Linked DNA regions of Homo sapiens: all the other regions are linked to region 3. The links are contacts of gene promoters, found by promoter capture Hi-C in blood cells and fetal thymus (Javierre and others, 2016). All regions are on one chromosome and are shown on one strand. The core of a region is centred on a gene start or on the middle of the fragment in contact, and the rest is flanking DNA. Distances in the headings are between cores, read along the strand shown.

Evidence for each region. The method cuts DNA at HindIII sites, captures the fragments that hold promoters and counts their contacts. A CHiCAGO score of 5 or more calls a contact.
Region 1: a fragment that was not itself captured here is called in contact with the fragment with the promoter of FAXDC2 in region 3 in 1 of 17 cell types (total CD4 T cells); the score reaches 5.4 in total CD4 T cells.
Region 2: a fragment that was not itself captured here is called in contact with the fragment with the promoter of FAXDC2 in region 3 in 1 of 17 cell types (neutrophils); the score reaches 7.1 in neutrophils.

The regions. Positions count from the first base shown.
Region 1 is chr5:157,132,715-157,135,678 of GRCh38, forward strand. No RefSeq gene overlaps it. Among named protein-coding and RNA genes, the nearest start is that of MED7, 8.7 kb to the right of the region's middle. The HindIII fragment of the contact is 3,920 bases long and covers 1-2,964 here.
Region 2 is chr5:157,276,627-157,279,599 of GRCh38, forward strand. The region is part of intron 1 of CYFIP2 (cytoplasmic FMR1 interacting protein 2); the gene reads left to right. Among named protein-coding and RNA genes, the nearest start is that of CYFIP2, 12 kb to the left of the region's middle. The HindIII fragment of the contact is 2,415 bases long and covers 273-2,687 here.
Region 3 is chr5:154,849,207-154,851,906 of GRCh38, forward strand. It overlaps FAXDC2 (fatty acid hydroxylase domain containing 2), which reads right to left and starts at 1,397. Exons shown (of 9, transcript NM_032385.5): 1 at 1,277-1,397. The HindIII fragment of the contact is 21,500 bases long and covers 1-2,700 here.

The DNA of each region.
Region 1 (2,964 bases), core at 413-2,912, 2.3 Mb after region 3:
AGCTGCAATGGAAACTGTACAGTCCTCAATGCCTAAAATATTTACTAATTGAATCTTTACAAAAGAGTTTGCCAATTCCTGACCTAGATTCCAACCTGAGCAAACCTAAACTCTAATCCTCAATTTTCATTACTCATAAAATGGGGATAATACCTACTAAGAGTTTTTAGGAAGATTAGAATTATAAGCACAGAATCTCCTTAAGATACTCATAGAAGTCTAAGCTAAGACATAAGCACCTTAATATGTTCAAAGGGAACTCATAGTTTCCATCTATAAATCTGTTCAGCCCAGTATCAAGTAGTATTTGCAAGCATGGATTTTAGGGTCAAAATATTGGCTCCACTCTTGGTTTCGCTACTTACTTACCTACGTGACTTAGTAACAACATGAGGGAATGGAGAGGCAATGAAGTATGAAGGTTGAGTGTTCAGGCTTGGAAAACTAGAATGCCTAGTTTCCATCCTGGCTTTGCCACCCACTAGTCAGTTAACCTTGGGTAAATTACATAACTTCTCTGAGCCTCCACTTCCACATCTGAAATATGAGTGTAAAAAGAATACTGATTTCATTCAGTAGTTGTAAGGCTAAAATGACTTTATTTATACAAAGAGATTAAAACATTGCCAGCAACTTACAGCCATAAATACCATCAGATTTAGAAGGTTCTTCACAGGATTGTTCTAAGGATTAAATAAGAGAACAGCTACAAAGCACTTAGCACCATTTGCAGTACTTAGAAATCTATCAGAGTACAGCTAGTACCCTTCCTACTGATTCTCTGTATTTTAGTAAAATCTGATGAGAAATCAATTGCAAACATAATTTCTCATCAGATTTCAGATAAAAACCCAATTCCTTCCCTTGGTTCTCTAAATCATGCACATCTGTCCTCCACCTGCTTCTGAAGCTCCAACCTCCTCCCTCACCATATTGCAGCCATAGTAGCCTTTCTCATCCAAATTATGCCAACTTTCTATCTCCTCATGAGATATTTGCACCTGCCGTTCCCAGTAACCTCAGGGCTCAGTGCATGAGTTGAAGCTGCCTTTCTTTATGTTTTTGAGACATGGTCTCACTCTGTCACTCAAGCTGGAGTGCAGTGGCATGACTGTGGCTCACTGCAGCCTTGACCTCCTGGACTCCAGTGTCCCTTCTACTTCAGCCTCTGGAATGGCTGGAACCCGTCATGTGCCATCACATCCAGCGAATTTTTAAATATTTTTGTAGAGATGGGGTCTCCCTATGTTGCCCAGGCTGGTCTCGAACTCGTGGACTCAAGTGATACTCCTGCCTCAGTTTCTCAGTGATGGGATCACAAGTGTGAGTCACCGTGCCTAGCAAAGTTGCCTTCTAAATTCCTTAACAAATGTGAGGTTAGGCATGGTGGCTCACACCTGTAATCCCAGCACTTCGGGAGGCTGGAGGATTACTTGAGCTCAGGAGTTTGAAACCAACCTGGGCAACATAGTGAGACCTCATCTCTACTTAAAAAGAAAAAAAAAGTTTTAGGCCGGGCATGGTGGCTCACGCCTGTAATCCCAGCACTTTGGGAGGCCAAGGCAGGTGGATCACGAGGTCAGGAGATCGAGGCCATCCTGGTCAACATGGTGAAACCTCTTCTCTACTAAAAATACAAAACTTAGCTGGGCATGGTGGTGCACGCCTGTAGTCCCAGCTACTCGGGAGGCTGAGGCAGGAGAATCACTTGAACCAGGGAGTTGCAGGTTGCAGTGAGCCAAGATTGCGCCACTGCACTCCAGCCTGGTGACAGAGTGAGACTCCATCTCAAAAAAAAAAAAAAAGTTTTAAAAGACAAAAAAAAATGTACACATTCCTTGAAAAGGGAAGATAATGTGGACAAGGTGCTTTGAACAGGCAATAGGAACATAACTGGAAGCAAGATTCTTCTGAAGGTGCTGTAATGGCTGAGTGGTTAAGACACAAACTTATCACCTTCAAAAATTAACTCGTCTTATTATCTTTCTTACATTTTCCTTCGCCCTTCCCACACATCCAACAGTTAAACTAGTATCAGGCAGAGTGCAGACCACAGTAAGTATTCATCAAATGAATATCATGAATAAATGAATAGCTGGGGAAAAACTACTCTCATAAAGGGAATACAAATTTGTACAATCCGTTTATGTTTGTTATTTATATTAAGTTCACATGTGCCTGATTTGTAGTAGATCTCTCGTTATCGTTAGCTCAGCACCGCTTCCTTCCTCTGAGAGACAGACTGACTCTTCCATAAATAGACATAGCGGGGACTGTGAAATTCTTATGGGATCCAAGTCCCAGTTGATTTGCCCAGTTGCAATCAAGTATACAACCCCTAATTCCTCATGTCTAGCTCGTTAATTAACCTCCCCTCATTTTTTTTAAGTTTGCATTTGAGAGGGAACTCCCAGACAGTGGTAAACATAGAAATACTTAACCCTTAGGAACTGTCAGCTGCCATGTTCTCCACCTACATCATTAAAGAAGTTCATCTGTAAAGAGAATGAAGCTAACAGGAAAGATGGTCTCCAGGGCTACTAACTTAAAACTTCATCCACTTTCTGACCTTCTCATGGTTTATATATTCAACTTATCCTTCAATCAACATATCCCATATCCTTTCTTTTTTTAATTAAATTGTAAGAGAGAGAAGGTCTCACTATGTTGCCCCCATTGGTCTCAAATTCCTGAGCTCAAGTGATCCTCTCACATCAACCTCCCAAAGCACTAGGATTATAAGTGTGAGCCACCGTACCCAGCCCATACCCCATATCCTTTATATAAATTCATCTTTTTGCTTAAATTAGTTCAAGTAGGGTTTTTGTCAGCAGTAACAGAGCACTGATTAATGCAACATTCTGTAACCACTGCACAAGAGAATCATCTTCTGATTTCTTAAAACCAATGCTAGTACCCCAGTCCAAAAAATGAAATCAGAATCTCCGCAGTGTGGGACCTGGG
Region 2 (2,973 bases), core at 230-2,729, 2.4 Mb after region 3:
TATCCCTTATACCAAAATGAAGAGAGTGAGGCTCAGAAAGGTTATGTCACCTACTCAAGGTCACACAACTAGGTATTGGCAGAGGTAAGATTCTAACTCAAGCTATCCAGTTCACCTCCACACTAAAATGCCTCTCATATGGATATCAGTGGTGGACATGGGATGATTTTCAGATAATACCCAGACCTGTGTTTATGTTCATTACTATGTTTTTTATGGCTCCTCTGTTTATGGCATATAATATTAGTTTTCTCTCTGTGATTGTGATATAAAGCTTCCTTCTAAAATGAAAAGTGGCAAAAAAGAGAATCCCTAGAAAAAAATATTAAGTAAGAATTATCCTGGCAGTTTATGGATATGACTATGTATTCTATGCTGATTTAAATTATCTGTATGGGTTTTTTCTCTTTTTCTTTTTTTTTTTTGTGACAGAGTCTCGCTTCGTCACCCAGGCTGGAGTACAGTGGCTCAATCTCAGCTCACTGCAACCTCCACCTCCCAGGTTCAAGCAATTCTGCCTCACCCTCCCGAGTAGCTGGGACTACAGGTGCGCACCACTATGCCCAGCTAATTTTTGTATTTTTATTAGGGATGAGGTTTCACCATGTTGGCCAGGCTGGTCTCGAACTCCTGACCTCAGGAGATCCGCCCATCTTGGCCTCCCAAAGTGTTGGGGTTACAGGCATGAGCCACTGAGTCTGGCCTTATCTGTGTAGCCACCAAGTCCGGTCTTATCTGTGTAGCCACCGAGTCTGGCCTTATCTGTGTTATTAATAGTGAAGGAGAAGGAATGGAAAAACTAGAAGTAAGGACATGGCCAACTTCAGGTCGTCTCCTCTCTCCTATGTTGTCAGGAGATTGAGGTGTGTTCATGAATTCTTTCATTCAGTACTTCCCCAGTGCCTAATCTGTTTGCAGCACTCTGCTAAGGTCTCTGCATTTTCAGTGATAGGTAAGAAAATGGTCCCTGACCTTGAGGAGCTTTCACATGCATGGTTCTACTCCAGAGAGGGCATGTTATGTTTTATTTCATGGGCAAACTCAGATTGATTGCTGGTGGCTTCCTGGAGCTCAGTATTTCATGAGGATTCTGAAGCTGTCTGTGGACTTAGTGGAAAATAGAGTCATTACCAATTAGCAATGTCTGTCCTGGCATGGGAGGAAGAAGTAGCAGTATTTGGGTTTTATTCTGGGGCCAAGAAAACATCATAGAGTGCATTTACACAAACCTGGATGGCATAGCCTACTACACACCTAGGCTATATGGTATATAGCCTATTGCTCCTGGGCTGCAAACCTGTACGGCATGTTCTTGTACTGAATACTGTAGGCAATTGCAACACAGTGGGAAGTATTTGTGTATCTAAACATAGAAAAGGTACAGTAAAAATATGATATTATAATCTTATGGGAACACCATCATATATATGATCCACTGTTGACTGAAGCATCATTATGAGGCAAATGACTGTAAATTTTTTTAATAGGAACAACCTAAATCTCCCTTTTATTTATTTTTATATTTATATATCTATATAATATTTTCTTTGTAGTAATATATGTATACATATGTGTATATATATGTATATGTGTGTGCAGTATGTTTGTGTGTGTGTACGTATACTTATATAGCCTCTGGCTGGAGCGCCATACGGACATGGAAAATATTTCCTGGCCTCTTGATGTTCATGAAACACAAAGGTGACAATTACCTAATCTTTCTAGCTTGCCAGAGTTGTGTTCTTCTTGAGGAAGGAAAAAGCAGCCAAACTGGGAAAAAAATATGTTTGGCACCTTTCAAAAAGGTACAAAACCAGGTGTGGTCTAGAAGAAAAGGCATAGAATTGGGAGTCAAGGTATCCTGTTTCTACCCTACCTCTGCCACTAGCTGACCATGTGACCTTGAATAAAAGTGTTTACTTCTCCATAACACAGTGTCCTCAGAAACACAGCAAAAATTATACCTGCTGAATTGAATTTGCAGGATAGTTGTGATTGAGAAAATCAATGTGAAAGATCTATAGAACTGAGATATTAGTGTAATAATAATAAACCTTCCTTTTTTTGGTAGGAGAATTGTTGGAGTATTTAATTCATCCTCTCTATTGAAAACAGGCCACAGACTAGCGAATGTTAAACGAAAGTATGGGAGGCCATTGTTTAAGACTAAGCTCCTGTACTAGGCCCCTAAAAACCAGACCAAATCAAAATGGAGTCACTCATGCTAAATGCCACTCTCTACCTGAGTCAGCATAATAAGCAAATCCTCTCTGCCTTAATCCTTACAAAAAAGTAACCTGAAGTAACTTGATGTTAACTAATCATTTATTTTTCTATTGTTGTGTTTTCTTATTCCCACCTTACAAAACCCACAGTTTTGCTATTGCCCAGTGGGAGCTTTCATTCTATTGTATAGAAAGGAGGTGCTTCAATTCATAAATCACAAATTAAGGACAATTAATTCTATAAATTTATTGTAATTTTGTCTTTTGACATGTCTTTGCTGGCTACTGTGTTAAGTATTCTACATGCTGTAGTTATATAATCAAAATAAACATTGAGGACAGGCACTATTGTAAATTGTCACCCTTACAAGGTAAGGAAACTGAGGCTCGGAGAGGTTAAGGAACATGCTATTGTTTATATAGCTCATAAGTGGCAGATGACAGATTGAAACCCAGAACTCAAGCTTACCCACTACACTAGCCTAATATTTCACTTCAGTAAAAAGTCTTAATATTTCATTTCTTTCCAGAAAAATCAAACAGATAATGACAATGCAAGTATTTTGCTTACAGAGAAACAGGGTTTAAGCTGTAAATGTCAGAACCTGCATTTCCAAAGCCATGTTCTCCTGGCAGTCGCCCTGCATTTATGGGACCCACCCCCCTCTTGCTTGGGGTCTGTCAGTCATGTCTGCCTGGGGGGGCACCTAAAGCCCCCCCTTCTCAGAAGCAAATTGCTTGTGTGCCC
Region 3 (2,700 bases), core at 147-2,646:
GAGGTGGAGGTTGCAGTGAGCTGAAATCGCGCCACTGTACTCCAGCCTGGGTGACAGAACGAGATTCCATCTCAAAAAACAAAAAAAACAAAAACAGAAGATGAAATGCATGAAAGGAAAGGTTAAAAATGATTCCCATGGGCCAGTTTTAGTAATACTCTCTTCACTCCTTTTGCTGCATGGTACTTGCACCCTTTGAGCTTACTGTTCTGCTTGATTGCATGTCCATGAGGCCGAGAATCTGCCTGTCTTGTTTACCACGAGATCCACAGAATCAAGCCCAAGCCTGGCATGTAGAAGATACTCAAGAAAGATTTGCCGAATAAATAAGAGATACACGAATCAAAAGCATTGCTTTTTGCCCTCAAAAAGTGTTCAACATTTGCTATGGAACATTTTAGCACCATTCCCTTGTGCTAATTACTTTCGTAACTAAAGTTAGAAGCTGATGCTCAGTGCATCTGTGTTTTAGCAAATTGAATTGAATCTGTATATCCCACTCAAAGAAATTTAATTGGAATTGCACATGAAACTGAAGCAACCCACAAATCAGCATCTTGTCTTGCTTGCCTTAAGCCCCAGAAGGTCCTGAAAGCCACTGTTCTATTGTTCATCTCCACCTACACACTTTACTGTATGCCCTTTACTCAATAACCTTCGTGGAGTGTTTCCATAGGTACTATCAAGCCACTAACGATTTCACAACTGGAGCCACTGTTGGTAAATCCAAGTATGTTGCATCAAAACAGTTTCAACCTACTTGTCTAGCTCATAGCCCACACATCTATCCAGAGACTTTAAAACTGTTGTATTTTGCCCCATACCTTCCTGGTGATGGCAGAGTAGAGATGAGAAGCAATTAGGCAGCAGTTGCTTCCCAACAGTCTCTTCCAGTTTGTTCTGCCTCTCATTTGAGTTCTGAATTAGGAGTTGCTCCTTTACAAATGGTTTTAAAGTCAAACAATTACTTGTCCATTACAATCACCTGTCAATTGCTAGAAAAATTAGACTACTGAGGAGGTAGATGGTACAAACACAGGCAGAGGATACAGACATTAGTAAGAGACAAGGAGGCGACTGCACTACAGCAATGTCCTAGGACAAATTCTAACCCTGCCATCTAACCCTGTTTAGAGGCAAATCTAACCCTGCCATAAGTAGAGAGGACAGGGTGGTGGCAGAGGTGGGAAGAGTGTTGTTTTGCCCTTACTTTAAGTGAACCTGGACATGTCCTGACCTTTGCAAACACCACCCCTCCCCCGTAGTTCCCACTTACCTCTGCAGTGGGCTGTGTCCAAGCTGCTGAGGTCCTTGCACAGGTCAAATCTAAGTTCTCTTCCCTTTCAGCCCCCGCTTTGGTGGCTGTTGCTGCTGCGGCTCTGCTGCAGGCTAACCTTGTTTTTGCTCGGGTGGGAGGCTGGCCATGGTGATCTCATTACAGAGCTGCGTACTGGCTCGGACCAGGCACGTGATGAAAAAAGTTTGGGTCTGTGTGGGCTGGAAACAAAACACCCTTCTTTCCAGAGGGCATGTCCTTAAAGCGGAAAGGGAATCTAAGCTCAAGCAGGAACTTGAAAAACGTGCATTTGGCCAAACTCTGGGCTTCCCTCCCCCTGCCCCCTTTTTTTCTTTTAAAAAATTTTCTCCATCATCTGCAACTTAAGAAAATGTCGCTGTCCCATAGGAGGAGGCAGATTCAAGAAAAGATGTGGGTGTCAGATAATGGCAGGTAGTACAAGTTGATAAAAAGGTGACAGAGACCAGAGGATCTCATTTTCTTTTTTTTCATTGCTTCTTTTCCTGTGGAGGGCAGGCAAGGGAGGAGAGATGCATCAGCTATTTCTAGTGAGTCTAGATGCAGGAAAGGCATGCCTGTGGAGGGTAAATTTGCACTGTGATTGAAATAGGGGAACTTAGGATACAGGACCCATGACATGAAGTGAGGAGCACTTTGGAAAAAGAGCTGCTTTTAAATTTCTGAAAACTTTTTAAATAAGCAAATGTGCAAATGATATAAAATACAATAGGGTCAAAAGAATGTACAATGAAAAGTCTTTTTTTAATTTCTCCTCAGTCCCCTTTTTTTCCTCCCAAGAGACAACCTCTGTGACCAGATTTTTGTATATCCTTCCAGAGCTTACCTCTGTAAATAGAAACATGTGTAGGCCTTGTGCTTCTCCTTTAGCAACAGCACCATAGTATGTTTGTTGTGCACCTTGCTTTTTCCACTTAACAATCAAACATGGAGATTGGCTAGGCATGGTGGTGCTCACCTGTAGTCCCAACTATTTGGGAGGCTGAGGTTGGAGGATCACTTGAGCCCAGGTATTTGAGACCAGCCTGGGCAGCACAGGAAGACTCCTTTCTAAAATAAACAAAACTCAGAAACTTGGCTGGGCACGGCGGCTCACATGTATAATCTCAGCACTTTGGAAGACCAAGACGGGAGGATCACTTGAGGCCAGGAGTTCAAGACCAGCCTGGGCAATGTAGCAAAACCCCATTTCTACTACATATACAAAAAATTAGTAGAGCTTACTGGCACATGTCTGTTATCCCAGCTACTGGGGAGGCTGAGGTGGGAGGATGGCTTGAGCCCAGGAGTTGGAGGCTGCAGTGAGCTATGATTGTGCCCTGCACTCCAACCTGAGTGACAGAGTGGGACCCTGTCTCTAAAAAACAAAACAAAATAAAAAATGC